5 separate regions of the Homo sapiens genome follow, and regions 2, 3, 4 and 5 are each linked to region 1. The links are contacts of gene promoters, found by promoter capture Hi-C in human tissues and cell types (Jung and others, 2019). All regions are on one chromosome and are shown on one strand. The core of a region is centred on a gene start or on the middle of the fragment in contact, and the rest is flanking DNA. Distances in the headings are between cores, read along the strand shown. Region 1 holds the start of JPH2 (junctophilin 2). Region 2 overlaps SRSF6 (serine and arginine rich splicing factor 6). Region 3 holds the start of L3MBTL1 (L3MBTL histone methyl-lysine binding protein 1). Region 4 overlaps L3MBTL1 (L3MBTL histone methyl-lysine binding protein 1). Region 5 overlaps IFT52 (intraflagellar transport 52).

What was found. Contacts are between HindIII fragments. The study calls those that stand out against the background at their distance.
Region 2: a contact is called between a fragment that was not itself captured here and the fragment with the promoter of JPH2 in region 1, in 1 of the 25 tissues and cell types used here (hippocampus).
Region 3: the fragment with the promoter of L3MBTL1 here is called in contact with the fragment with the promoter of JPH2 in region 1 in 4 of the 25 tissues and cell types used here (IMR-90 fibroblasts, adrenal gland, lymphoblastoid cells and 1 more).
Region 4: a fragment that was not itself captured here is called in contact with the fragment with the promoter of JPH2 in region 1 in 1 of the 25 tissues and cell types used here (spleen).
Region 5: a contact is called between a fragment that was not itself captured here and the fragment with the promoter of JPH2 in region 1, in 1 of the 25 tissues and cell types used here (dorsolateral prefrontal cortex).

What each region holds. Positions count from the first base shown.
Region 1 is chr20:44,185,785-44,188,559 of GRCh38, forward strand. It overlaps JPH2 (junctophilin 2), which reads right to left and starts at 1,404. Exons shown (of 6, transcript NM_020433.5): 1 at 543-1,404. The coding sequence starts at 921. The HindIII fragment of the contact is 16,539 bases long and covers 1-2,775 here.
Region 2 is chr20:43,460,955-43,463,729 of GRCh38, forward strand. It overlaps SRSF6 (serine and arginine rich splicing factor 6), which reads left to right. Exons shown (of 6, transcript NM_006275.6): 6 at 1-2,775. The coding sequence ends at 109. Among named protein-coding and RNA genes, the nearest start is that of SRSF6, 4.4 kb to the left of the region's middle. The HindIII fragment of the contact is 4,185 bases long and covers 1-2,775 here.
Region 3 is chr20:43,506,279-43,509,053 of GRCh38, forward strand. L3MBTL1 (L3MBTL histone methyl-lysine binding protein 1) reads left to right here and starts at 1,419. Exons shown (of 22, transcript NM_001377303.1): 1 at 1,419-1,466. RefSeq lists a silencer at 1,300-1,629. The HindIII fragment of the contact is 9,495 bases long and covers 1-2,775 here.
Region 4 is chr20:43,522,985-43,525,759 of GRCh38, forward strand. All of the region lies in intron 7 of L3MBTL1 (L3MBTL histone methyl-lysine binding protein 1), which reads left to right. It also overlaps the pseudogene LOC107985380. Among named protein-coding and RNA genes, the nearest start is that of L3MBTL1, 17 kb to the left of the region's middle. The HindIII fragment of the contact is 4,063 bases long and covers 1-2,775 here.
Region 5 is chr20:43,612,373-43,615,147 of GRCh38, forward strand. IFT52 (intraflagellar transport 52) reads left to right here. Exons shown (of 14, transcript NM_016004.5): 7 at 1,478-1,604. Among named protein-coding and RNA genes, the nearest start is that of IFT52, 23 kb to the left of the region's middle. The HindIII fragment of the contact is 3,361 bases long and covers 1-2,775 here.

The DNA.
Region 1 (2,775 bases), core at 154-2,653:
GCGTGGGTGGGTAGATGGATGGATGGGCAGGCAGGTGGGTGGATGGATGAATGGATGGATGGACGGGTGGGTGGATTGGTGTGTGGATAGATGATGAGTGGATAGTTGGATGGGTGGATGGATGGATGGGTGGGTGGATGAATACTCCTCATGATCTATTGCTTGAAAATAATTTTCATGGCAAAGTTAAGACTAGACCCTAATTCTGCTAGAGTATATTCCATGGCTGTTTATGTTGGGGCATACCGAACATGCTAATGGTAGTAGTTATATTTTATTGTGTGTTGAGTGTGCACTTACATGGCAGGCTTTGTACTAAGCACTGCCACTAATCCTCTCAATAACCCCTTTATTAGCTCCATCTTTACTACAAGAAAATGGAAGCTCAGAAAGGTAGAGCAGCTTGCCCAAAACCACACAGCAAATCACTTCCTAGCCCATCTGATTCTGTGCCAATTGCCGGTCGCCTTTCCCACCCTCCACCAGGGTTTCTCACCCTCCCTGGCTCCACCCCACCTCTGCGGGCCCCCAGCTGGCCTCACCTCCATCAGCATAGGTCTCGGTGCCATAGCCGTCTTGCAGGCCATTGTTCCAGGTGCCCTCATACTTGGCACCGCTGCTTGAGCTCTGCCGGATTCCGTAGCGTCCCTTGAAGCCATGTGTCCACTCGCCCTTGTAGAGCCAGCGCCCCTTGGTCTCTATGCCCAGCCCATGCCGTTTGCCCTGGCTCCAGTATCCCTCAAAGGTGTTTCCGCTGGGCCAGGTGTAGACACCTGCCACCTCAAAGCCAAAGTTCCAGGAGCCAGAGTATTCGCCCTGGCCCTTGGGGCCTGTGCACAGTCCATGCCCATGGGCCTTTCCCCCCTCCCAGCCCCCGCAGTACGCCCCTCCATCATCAAAGTCGAAGCGGCCCCCACTCATCTCATCATAGCCCCTGACAACCTCCCCGTCCTCCAGCGTGGGTGCAGAGGGCGTGGGTGATGCCTGCAACACTCCTCCAGTGCCCTCGGGGGCAGGCCCCCAGACTCACCACTGCACCCCAGGAGGGGGGAAGCAGGATGCCAGCAGAGGCTGAAAGAGCCCCGGCGCCAAGTCAGCACCGGGTCGGCTAGTCAGTGCCATGCCCGGGAGCCCCGACTCCACCAGCCAGAGCAAGGCTGCCTGCTGGAAAGAAAGCAGGAAGGAAAGGTTCAAAGTCCCCACAAAGCGTCCCAAGTCTGCCTTCCAAGAAGTCCAAGGGAAAACGGTGTGATCTCTTTAAGAAGCCCAGTGAAAGGGTGGGGTGGAGGGGTCCCCAGCCTTTTCAAAGAGGGGAAATTCCCCTCGGTGGCAGCCCCCGCCGGAGGCTGAATTCCCGCAGCCCGCTGGCCCCCTTCTCCACCCCAGTGGGTGTGCGGGGCTGTCGGTCTCCCCGCCGCTGCCCCGCCCCCTTCTCCAATCCTGCCCTCCTTCTGGGACGGAAAGGTCAGTGTTGCCCTAACAAGGCCATTGGATCTCAGAAGCTGCTCCCAAAATAACCCCCAGCCAGCCCAGCCTTCTTCAAAGCGGGAAGGAGGGGTATTTCAAATCGCGCCCGTGCCGCAGACCCGGGCAGTGGCTGGAGGCATGAGGAAGGAGGCTGAGAACTGAGTGCAGGCAGCCCAGGGAACCTGGTGTCTTTTCCTCCCGGGAATGAGAGCTCCCTTCCATTCTCAGAGTCCCCTGGGTCTGCGCGCAGGGAGGGCACCGGGGAATCGGGGAAGGGAGGGGAGAGGGAGACCAGCAGAACACCCAGTCCTGGAACACTGAAAATCCCCCAGAGCGAGGAGGTTGGCAGATCTCAGCCCCATCACCACTCACATGCCCTAAGGGGACCTGGGGTTACAGCACCACTGCCAGCCCCATCAAGGAATCCAGTGACCTAAAGAGAAAGGAATGGAGACAGTTTCACATGTGCTTCCGAAAGCAGAGGAGGGAAGTCAGAAAGAGAGGGGAGGCTGTGGAAACAGGGTCTGGAAGATACACAGAATCTCAGTCCAGTGCTCACTCACCACCCTGAGCTCCCTCCACCCCTGGAAGCCGGGGAGAACTTGGTGCAAGAAGCAACCATCTATTCCCTTTCTCTTTCTCCTGAAGGGCAAAGAGAAGGGAGAGGAGCCTGCCCTCCTCTCTGCCTGAGACACAGACTGGGCGTCCCGCTAGCTTCCTCTCCCCACCCCTTGATGCCTCGGCGCCCTCCCTGCCCCCTGCCGCAGACCCAGCAGACCCTGAAGGTCAAAGGAGTCCCCTTCCTGTCAACACAGGGTTGTGTTGTAATGAGGTCCTCTCAGAAATTCTCAAGGGTCATGATTTTTTAAAATTTCCCTTTCTGAGCTGTCTTTTGCTCTAGTGTCCTAGGAGCCTGTGAGGCCAGACTTCAGAAAGCTCTTGGGGCAGGGCCAGGAGAGAAGGGCCTGGGTGGATTCCCAGCCACTCAGGTTCCCACCAAACTCCAGTAAAAAGAACAAATAAATCTCCATGGCAAGAAGCTGTGGCCAGAGCTAATGATTGTAAATCCCAGCTAAGCCCAAGGTTAATGGGAGTATAGAGGAATTCTGGGAAAGGTAAGAGCCACCAAGACTAGGAAGATCTGTGTGTGTGTGTGTCTGTGCGTGTGTGTGAACGTGTGTCTGTGAGAGTGTGAGAGAGTGTGTGTGAGTGTATGTGAGTGTGTGTGGTAAGAGTGTGTGTGTTTGTGTGTGTGTGGTAAGTGTGTGTTTGTGTGAGTGTGTGTGGTAAGAGTGTGTGTGTTTGTAT
Region 2 (2,775 bases), core at 149-2,648, 720 kb before region 1:
CTCAAAGGCCCGTTCTGTGTCCCCTCCACCAAAAAGAGCTACTTCAAGATCCCGTTCTAGATCTCGCTCAAAGTCAAGATCAAGGTCCAGGTCGAGTTCCAGAGATTAACTCAGAACTCCTTGTTTGCACATTATTATGGAACACTTTCCTACTTAGGCAGTTACTCTTCCATGTTTATACTTGGCCTCTTCTGCAAGAGGAATCTCTTGAAAACAGGGGCACACAGAAATTTGATTTGTGGCCAAATTGGATGAAAAAGATGAGGCTCTAAGGAAATGGTGGCATGAAGACCCTCTCCCTTCTTTGTAGAATTAAGATAACTTTGATTTTATAGCTTTTGAGCTAACGTAACTTTTGTAAAGATTAAGCTCATTTAGTGTTGTTTTTTTTTTTTTTTTTTTTTTTTTTTTTTTTTTTTTAGTATTTCAGCAGGATCTGCTGGCAGGGTTTTTTTGTTTTATTTGTTTGCTTATTTTTAAATTAACTGTTTTGAGCTTTGAATACTTAAGGCTTTAGAGGGAGAACCCAATTTTCAATTATGTTGGCTTTTTATAAAGCTTGAGTTATGTAAGATTTAAATAAAAGTTTGCTACCAAGATGATTGCCTTATTGAATAGGTCACTATTAAATTCCTTTAAATGTTGATATCTGCCATTTGTGGAAACAACGTAAATTCTACTTAAGTGTAAACAAGGCAAGCCTCAGACCAGCAATAAATTACTCAGTTTGGATAACATTATTTTGTGCAGTTAATCAAATTTGCCAAAGTCTTTATCTGCCCCTTTAACAAGTTGAGTAAAAATAAAAGGTATTTTTTAGTCAATGTGTTCCATGATTTTGCTTAAATTAATACTTTTAAGTAATGGAACTTTTTTCAAAGGCAAATTTAAACTATTTAAGAAATAGCTCCTAATACTTGGGATCTTGTTTAGAGAATCCACTTTCTGGAAGTTCTCAGCATAATTAGTGTTGAGAGTGGTTCAGTTGTCTTTAATGTTTGTCATGTGGAAATGGAAGTAGCCTCTTTTTGTTCTGAAATTGAGTTTATTCAAAGTGTAAAAGCACATACTGCATTTTCTGCTGAAAGATCATTATGTTTAACAGGCACTTAATCTCAGTAAAGTCAGTTGCCAGTTAAGTTCCACCCAGTAGTCAGTCCCCTTTGTAGTTAGTGGGATTATTTGATAATTGGTTAGATCATACTTGTAAATTTTAATGCTTTGTGTAATTGGTTTGAAAAACAGTGAAATGGGTAAACGCAAAACTTTTGTACTTTATTACGAGTAAAGTGTAATGAGTACTGTGGAAACCAAATTTGAATACTGCAAATTTGTAGGAGTTACTAGGTTAGCAATTAGTCCATACATCCATAAGCCTGATGAGTTGAAATTGCAGTTTGAGAAGTGAATTAACCTTACATCCCTTTGTTCAGATACCTTAAAAGTTACTTTATTTAAAAGCATTTATTAATCTTAGTCTGAAATCAAAATATAGATTAATTGGCTCAGCTTTAATACCTTTCTAGGAGGTGTCACAATGTAGGGTACCAAGGGTTGGATTGTGATGGGGCATGGTCGTACACTGCTCATTGTGCCACAGGTGTGACTGGAAAGCATGATATTCTAGGGTTGGTTTGTAGATTCAAATAATCCAGAAATATACCTAATAAGATTGAGTGAAAAATTTGAGTCAAATATCTAGGGCATTCACAGAGTAGCTGTGAGTTCTTGGTAATGTGAAAAAGGCCTTGTTTTTCAGAAATTCCTGGGTTTCCTGTTAAAAAATCTTAAAGCCCAACCTTAGGAATATAGTGCCCCAAAAGGCGGATGCTTCTTCCATTATCTTATTTTCTTTGATACTTTATTTAATTAGATGTTTATAAAGAAATGGGTTTATTTTTCCAGCATAAACCTCAGAATTTAAGGAAAGAAAATGATGTCTGTTGTTATAGTTCATTGTTTTGCCTACTCAGCAGAAGTGATGACTCTTAAAAATTGGCTTTGACCAAAGTTCTCTTGTTTTCAGGGAAAGAACATAAAAGCTTTTTGAACTACAGCCTTTTTAAAAGAGGGATGGGAGGATATTACAGTAAGAAATTAGGCTTTCTAAAAGTATGAAACATCCTTCAACTGGGCTCTCTTGTTAATAGGACATCATATGGTAATAGACTGGTTTGACTATATTGTTAGCTGCCACAGTAAGCAGGTCATTGTATAGGTAAATGCCTGCACCCATAATTTTCTAGTAATAGCCACGACCAATTTATTAACAGTCAGGGCCTATCCTTGCCTGTAGTTCTCAGTCACTGGATGCACAAAATCACTGTGTAACATTGGCTCACTTGGTGAGCATAGGGTTGACTGATAAAATGTTTAATTCCCTTGCTAGCTTGTGAGAAGAATGAGTTGATGACATGCTCCATACCAGTGGCTAGATGGAGTATTAAGGTGGAGCAGAAAAGAAGTGAGAACATCTTGATTCCCCTTTCTTTTACTTGATGGTGTTTATGAACATGCCGTAGTGCCTTTATGGCCAGTTTGAGTCCTGCCTACTTTGACTTTTACGTTCCCATTCCTGTGTTACCACCTTCCTCCCGATTTGTTCACCTATTTTGTGCTTTAAATCTCAATAAAATACTTACTGAGGGAAAGGCTTGTTTTGAGTTTATTGCATATGCCCACTTAGGACCAGATTCTTAACAAATGTTTTTTTGAATTGGAGTTTGCATTGGCAAGCCATTCCTGTCTTGAGTATGAGAACAGGATCTTGTGTTC
Region 3 (2,775 bases), core at 169-2,668, 680 kb before region 1:
CTTTGAAATCTAGATCACGCACAGTCTAGGTTGAGATGAGAGAATACTGAGCGGATGGTTGTGTATGTATCAATGTGTAGAAAAAGGCATCCATCGTTATGGCAACCAGCATCCTTAACTGATGCAATCCTGTTCCCAATAATATGAGATGTGATTAAAAATTGACATTGCAGCAAGGAAGAACACATGCAATGCGTTGGCGTGGCAACCGGAATAGTTAAATTCTGCATAAATTTAAACCTGTCGATCACAGCAATTTGGAGAATTTGCCTACATTTCATTAGGAACCCTTTTCTCATCTGGCCTGGGAGGGAATCAGGAGCCTGGTGGTCTGACATGTGGCCATGACTTAAGGCCAAGTAAAATCAAGGGATTAAATTAAATCATTGGTGTGGGAGAGGGGCTGGATGGTGGACTGTACCAAAAGTTACCCTGTTTTCATCTGCATACCCTACATCATTTAGTCACTCAACAGATATTTATTAAGCACCCACTCTGTGCCCCGCTCTGGGCTAGGTACTAGGAATACAAAAACTAATATTTCCTACCCTCTTGGAGCTTGAAACCTCTTAGCCTCTGGAATTACTCAAATCTATGTGAAGTGCCAGCTGTGGTATGTGTAAGCGAGACAGGTATCTTGTGTTACCAGAACCAATAACAAGGAGATTTGATTAATTAGAGAGATCAGGTGGAGGCGAAGAGATCAGTCAAAGTGAAGCAGAGAGGGGCAGTGATTGCTACACCACCACAGGAACCCAAACTGAAAACGACCATACGCCATGAAGTGGGTGATAGTCTTTACCAATGTCGAAATGGAGGACCTGGGGGATACTGATGTTACCCAGCCCTTCGCAGTGGGGTCACCCAAAAGTAGACGCGGCTAATGCCGCTCTTTATGCCCGGCAGGGCCAGGACCAGAGTCCCCGCACGAGGGTTCCTCTCTCCGGTCGCACGTGCCCTTCACCCTTCCTGAGGCCGTTTTCTGACGCTCCTGAGCTCCCCTCCAGGGTGAGGGCAGGCGCGGTGGGAAGGCGTTGGACAGAGCAGACACTCGGCTGGGGTGCATGCCTGGGTGCAGCCTCGTCTTTTGTCACTAACCACTCAGCTCGGTAGCCCTCCAGGCTCTCTCTTCGAGCTCCGCGGTCCCTGCGCCCCCGCTGCGCTCTGCTAGCTGTGATGCAGGGGTTCGGGGGCAGGAAAAATCTCGACCCGCCACGCCCGTGCGGCAAACCTGTCCTAGGTTGAGGGGGCATGAGGCGCGCACAACCAGGGCCTCGAAGGCAGGCAAGAGGGCGCGGGCGCCACAGAAGCCTGGGCCTGCGCCTGGGCCGGGCAGATGTGCCCGGCGCTCGGGCCCCGCGCTCTGCGTCCTGCAGGGAGGCGGACCCGCCCCCCGAACGCGCAGGCGCGCGGCGCCCGGCTCGGACCGTAGCTAGGCGCTGGGCGGCCACCGGCTGGCCAGGCAGGTAAGCAACCAGCGGTGCGTGGGCTCAGACCTTGCGTCCCCTGGGCGCCGCGCCACCCCGCTCCGTCCAGGGCGGCGAGGGCTCAGGTCTGCGGCCCCGGCGTCTCGCTCCTTCCGAGCGCCTCCGGCGGGGGGCGCGGGCTGGGGAGGAGGTTCGGGAAAACGCCGGGGAAAGCGGTCTGGGCGGAGCGCGCAGGGGGCCAGGCGGGTGCGGGACTCCAGGCCCAGCCGACCCTGCGGCGTGGCTTCGGGCTGCGATCAGGAGGGGCGAGGAGGGTGGAGGCTGCGTGTTTGGAGATACGCAATCAATTAAGAGTTTTTTTATTAATGGAAAGGTGTGGAGGGCGGGGTTTTGGTTTTCTTGGGAAATGAATGAGTCATTTGGCAAACTTTCCTACCATTAATTTTGGATTTTTATAATGGAATATGGAATTTTTTTTGTTTCTCTCTCTTTTTTTTTTTTTGGCCATAAAGAGAAAGAATAAAAAGAATTCCGCCATTTTAGCGTTTTAAAAAGTAACCGTTCTGCGGAACTGTCGGATCAGTGACCGCCCCGCCCGCCTTTGCCTATACCAGTCCCGGGAGGCTGGTGGCGGGTCCCGATCCTGGAACCCTGCGCTCAGGGCCGCTTCCGTCCCCTCCCGAGTCCGGGAAGCAGCTGCGGCGAGGGGCGGGGCCGAGGCCCCAAGTTTGTAGCGCTCAGCCTTGCTGTGTGTTGTTTTCTGGGTAGCTGTCGAGGGCTCTACTCCCCACCCAACACCTATAGTAAGGACATTTATTGGTCGTTTTTGTATACAAGGCCTTGGAAGGCAAGGGATTGAGAAAACCTTGTCAGACATCAAGAGAAAATACCCATGGACACATTCAGCCAACAGATATTTATTGAGCATCTGCTATGTGCACGGCTCTGGGCTGGGGCTACAATGGTTGTTTTAGGTCGGGTCCCCCGAAACAGACTCCGATAGCAAGATTTGAGTGTAGGTTTATCGGAGTGCTCTTGCGAATATCACCAGTAGGGGAATGACGGGTTGGGCGGAAGAAGAAGCTGAACTGCTGATGTAGTCTCAACAGAGGCCTCAGCCTGACCTAATGGAAGCTCTGGAACTGAGATGGCCCTGCAGAGGTGTTCCAAAGTAAGGCAAGGGGGTGGGGTCTTTACACCTCATAGCAACTCGTCATTGGCTGGCGGCTTCTAGGAGAGCCTTCAAGTGAGGTAGCTCCCTAGGCTCAGAGCAGTTCCAAGAGAGGCTGACGGCAGAAGGCTGAAAACTTTCTTCAGTGTCCACCAGAAACCCAGACTCTTCTGAGTC
Region 4 (2,775 bases), core at 130-2,629, 660 kb before region 1:
GTAATCCCAGCTACTCAGGAGGTTGAGGCAGGAGAATCACTTGAACCTGGGAAACGGAGGTTGCAGTGAGCCGAGATCCGCCACTGCACTCCAGCCTGGGTGACAGAGTGAGACCCTGTCTCAAAAAAAAATAATAAAAATAAATAAAGTAAAATGTCAGAATATGCAAAAATGCTGTACTTATTTCTGTTAATACCTTGAAAATAGTGGAAGTTTGAAGATTTTTAATTCTTAAAGAGTCCAAGCTGGAAGATGACTGCTACTGATGGGGTTTGTTCAACGTACTGATTCCAAGCTTGGCGACCATCAGCAAACTGGTACCTGCAATTAAACCTGGAGACATAAATTTTCCAGAGTGGTAGAATCTCATTCCCATAATGCCAGCCAAGGTCTCAGACGTAGCAAGGAAAACCCAAGCATCCCTTGGATCCTGAGAGCTGATAAGCACCCAGGCCTGTTAAACCCCCAGAGAGGAATAGCATTCTACCTGCTTTTGCATAGTCAGTGATCCCTCCAGAGGCAACCAGTGCTGCGTAGCCAAAACCCAAACCAGTGCAAAGGCACTAGTGGACCAGTATCCTGCGGCATTGTTCTCTTCTCACCCTGTCCTGTGCAGACAGTAGACTATAGCAGGCCTGCATTTGCACCGCTCTCCTGAAGGTCTGTACTGGTCAACAAGATCTCCTTATCCTTTTAATATCTATAGGACATTTTTAAATTTCTCTTATTTTCTTTTTATTTTTAACTTTTTTTAAAGATAGAAATAGGGGAGGCCAAGGCGGGCGAATTGCCTGAGGTCAGGAGTTTGAGACCAGCCTGGCCAACGTGGTGAAACCCCATCTCTACTAAAAATACAAAAAATTAGCTGGGTGTGGTGGCGCATACCTGTAATCCCAGCTACTCGGGAGGCTGAGGCAGGATAATCACTTGAACCGGGGAGGCGGAGGTTGCAGTGAGCTGAGATCGTGCCACTGCACTCCAACCTGGGTGACAGTGAGACTCCATCTCAAAAAAAAAAAAAAAAAAGAAACAGGATGTCACTATGTTGGCCAGGCTGGTCTGGAACTCCTGGCCTTAAGCAATCCTCCTACCTCAGCCTCCCAGAGTTTTTCTTTGTTTATTAATCAGTCTTTCCAGAAACTTACTAATTTTATTTGTCTTTTAAAAAAAATTTATTTCCATTTTCTTTGGGTTAATTTTACTTTTCTAACTTCATGAGACAGATTTATTTTGATTTTTAAATTTCATTAATTTTAGCCATCCTCCTTTTCTAATATGTTTATTTAAGGCTGTCATTTTCCTCTAAATACTGCTTTGGCTGCATCTCAGTTTTTGATACATAGTTATTTCCATCGTTGTTCTTTTATTTAACAAATACTAAGTGCCTCCTATGTACCAGATAGTGGGCTAGATACTAAGAGTTCAGAGTAAGCAAAACACAGTACTAGCACTTAATGAGCTCATAATCTAGTTGCAGAAATAGATATGTCAACAGATTATTATGTAACCATATAATAAGTGTTATGTTTGAGGTATGTAAATACAAGGGGCTGTCACAGAACAAACTCTGCCTGCTGGAGTATAGAAAGGTTCCATGGGGTAGATGGGATGATATTCATCCATCCATCCACTCATCCATCCATCCATCCTTATAGTCATTTAACAAGCATTTGTTGTGCATCTATTTTATGTAAGTCTTGTGCTAGGTGCTGGAACTATGGCTACGTCTTGAAGGATGTGAAAAAAATAGGCTAATAGAACAAGGTGGGGGTGGGATTTTAAAGCAGAAGTATCAACCTATGCAAAGGCACAGAGGCTCAGGGGCATGGAAATGCATGATGAAGCTGGCATGATGGGGAGTAGCTAGTTCACCAAGGCTGTGTGTGGTGTGGAAAGGTGTTTAGATTTTGGGGTTTTGGGTTGGAAATGAGAAGCCATGGAACTTAAAGAAAATAAACACGTTTTTTCATTTGATATGTATTCTGGCAGTAGAATAAGTGTGAGGCAGAGACCAGTTAAGAGGCTTTTGGACTAGGCTCAAAGCAAGGACAGTAAATGTGGAGAGATGGATATAGATCCAAGAGATAACTAGGAGTTGGAATCAGTAGAATGGAAGGATCCTGGGGAGTTAAAAAAAAAAAAAAAGGCATAAAGTATCACTTCCAAGTTTCTGGCTTGCGTGACTGGATGAATGGATGGTGGCGCCATTGACTAGGGTAACGAATACCGAAAGGGCCACAGGCTTTGGCAGAGAAGTTACAAGTTTGGTTTTAGATCAGGCTGAGCTTGCCAAAGAAAGTGCTATCCAAGAGCATCTGGTCTAAGGAAGCAGGAATAAACAAAGGAGCATTTCTGGAAGTGGAGAGAGGATCAGTGCCACCGCTAGCCAATATGGTACCTTTGTACAAGTTATTAAAAAAAAAAGCATCTCTCCAGGGCAGACCAATTAGAAAAGGGCAACCTTTCTTCACAGTAGACTCAGCCACTTGGCTTGGCAGAAAGCCCAGGATGGATTTTAGCCCCATTCACACCCTTGGCTGGGTACCTATGTATAGTGCACAGATTATACAACCATACACAGGAGCCTTGGGACTTACTTGGGTTTAGGGATATGCCTAAGAGCTCAGCCCATTGTTCAACAATAGAAAAAGGAGGCAGGAAACTGAATTTGGCTGGGGGTGTTGGTCAGGGAAGGAATCTAGTAATTGCTGAAGGATTTGGTGGTCAGGCCTCTTTCCAGTGGATTACATTGAATCTTGTCCTCACCCGTGAAAG
Region 5 (2,775 bases), core at 151-2,650, 570 kb before region 1:
TTTTACTGAAGGAATGGGGAAGATTAACACCAGAGGGAGGCCAGGCCCGGTGGTTTATGCTTGTAATTCCAGCACTTTCGGAGGTCAAGGTGGGCGGATTGCCTGAGCTCAGGAGTTCAAGACCAGCCTGGGCAACATGGTGAAACCCCGTTTCTACAAAAAATATAAAAATTAGTAGGTGTGGTGGCATGCACCTGTGGTCCCAGCTACTCAGGGCACTAAGGCAAGAGAATCGCTTCAGCCCAGGAGATTGAGGCTGCAGTGAGCCATGTTCATACCACTGCACTCCAGCCTGGGCAACAAAGTGAGATCCTGTCTTAAAAAACAAAACAAAACAAACAAAAACACTAGAGGGAAATAATTTTAAACTTAAGCCAAAAAGAATTTTTGTTGTCTAAAGAAAAAGGGAAATTAAAATCTCTATGAGGAACCCCTCATGGGTGCTTCCCCTATACCCCCTCCCCCAGTTTCTAACCTTACGCCCTGGTGTTGAGATCTGTGTTTCTCTCCATTCTGAGAGCACTTCCTTCAAGCTTTGCAGAGCTCCATCTTTGAGTAAAACCCTAACCCCTCCTACATGGGTTGGCTTCACCCCAGAATCTGCACCCCACCTTTGCTCCTCTATCCCACACCCTCTCCAGGAGTACATTGCCCCAGGTCAGACCAATTCACTCTAGATAATCTAAGACAAGTCTTTGTTAGGACAGTGGAGAGTAGAGGAGGGACTCCAAAGCAGATCTGTGTAGAAGTGTCCATTATAGCGTATATTTATGCCTCTGTTCATGTGACATTTAACTGGTAACATACCCATCCAGTGATATACATTAATTCTTAGAGATAGCACTAGCCAAACCTAAGGAAGAAGAACGTATTTACCAGTAAGATATTATTATGCAGAGCAGCTTGAGTTCAGTTCTTGGATGAGGCCCCATCCTCTTCCTCCTCCCTCCATCAGGGGCTTCTTTAGTTCTCCCAGTTACAGTCACTTACACTTTCCTGTTAATTTACTTTCATGTTTTTTAAAATGCTTTATTAAATGTGTAGCTAGAGTTGTCCCAGTTTTTAAGTTAACAAACCAAAGCTTAGAAAAAATTTTTTGTTTGATAATGAATCAAAGAGTGTTACTCAGCTGAGCACCGTGGCACACGCCTGTAATCCCAGCACTTTGGGAGGCCAAGGTGGGCAGATCACTTGAGGCCAGGAGTTCAAGACCAGCCTGGTCAACATGGTAAAACCCTGGCTCTACTAAAAATACAAAAATTAACTGGGCGTGATAGCAGGCACTGAGGCTGCAGAACAGCTTAAACCTGAGAGGCGGAGGTTACAGTGAGCCAAGATCGCACCACTGCACTGCAGCCTGGGTGACTGAGTGAGACTGTTTCAAAAAAGAGTGTTACTCAAGAAACATTGAGATTATTTTCAGAATTTTTGTATTCATGTTTTTAAAATTTGAATGTGTTTCTTTAATTTCTTACAGGGCTCTCACCTTTGTGTATCCTTTTGGTGCCACATTGAGTGTCATGAAACCAGCAGTGGCGGTTCTGTCTACAGGTTCTGTCTGCTTCCCACTTAACAGACCCATTTTGGCTTTCTATCACTCAAAGGTACAGCTTTTCTTAGATATGGGTATAGATGTTATTTTTATTGTTGAAATAATAAAAACCACCTTACCATTTCCAGAAGGCTTCTATATGTTTTCTCACTGGTCTTCCTGCCAGTCCTGCAAAGTAGCATTTCAGCTATATACATTTTGCTTATGGGGAAACAGTGGATTGTCCAGTAATTGATGAAGTTAAGGCCTAAACCTAGCTCTTATTATTCTAAACCCGAAGCTTTTCCACTGTAGCATGAGGCTACCTGTATTATAACTTTTTTTTTTTTTTTGAGATGGAGTCTCTGTTGCCCAGGCTGGAGTGCAGTGGTGCAATCTCGGCTCACTGCAAGCTCCACCTCCCGGGTTCACGCCATTCTCCTGCCTCAGCCTCCCGAGTAGCTAAGACTACAGGCACCTACCACCACGCCCAGCTAATTTTTTGTATTTTTAGTAGAGACAGGGTTTCACCATGTTAGCCAGGATGGTCTCGATCTCCTGACCATCCTGCCTCGTGGTCCACCCGCCTTGGCCTCCCGAAGTGCTGTATTATAACTTTTAAAATAACTTTTTTTTTTTTTTGATCCCATGGCAGCATATTGATGAAAATAACTTTTAATCCTGTCTGTGACTATGGGCTGTCACCCTCAGTGTAAAGAGAATACATTCAGGAACAGATGGAGTTAACATATTACACAAAATAGCACAGAATTATGTTGCTGTTAGTTTATACTAGGAAAATATATCAGAAAACTATTTTTCCAGTTATTATCCTAGAGACCCCATAGAAATGTGGGCACAGCTAGTCCCAGGCAGTGACCCAACATCCCACTGCCTTTCTTTTTCTTTTTTTTTTTTTTTTTGAGATGGAGTCTCACTCTGTTGTGCAGGCTGGAGTACAGTGGCATGATCTTGGCTCACTGCAACCTCCGCCTACCAGGTTCAAGCAATTCTCCTGCCTCAGCCTCCCGAGTAGCTGGGATTACAGGTGCCTGCCACCAAGCATGGCTAATTTTTGTATTTTTGGGAGAGATGGAGTTTCACTATGTTGGCCAGGCTGATCTCGAACTCCTGACCTCAAGTGATTCACCCACCTTGGCTTCCCAAAGTGCTGGGATTACAGGCATGAGCTCTGTTGCCCAGGCTGGAGTGCAGTGGCGCAATCTTGGCTCACTGCAATCTCT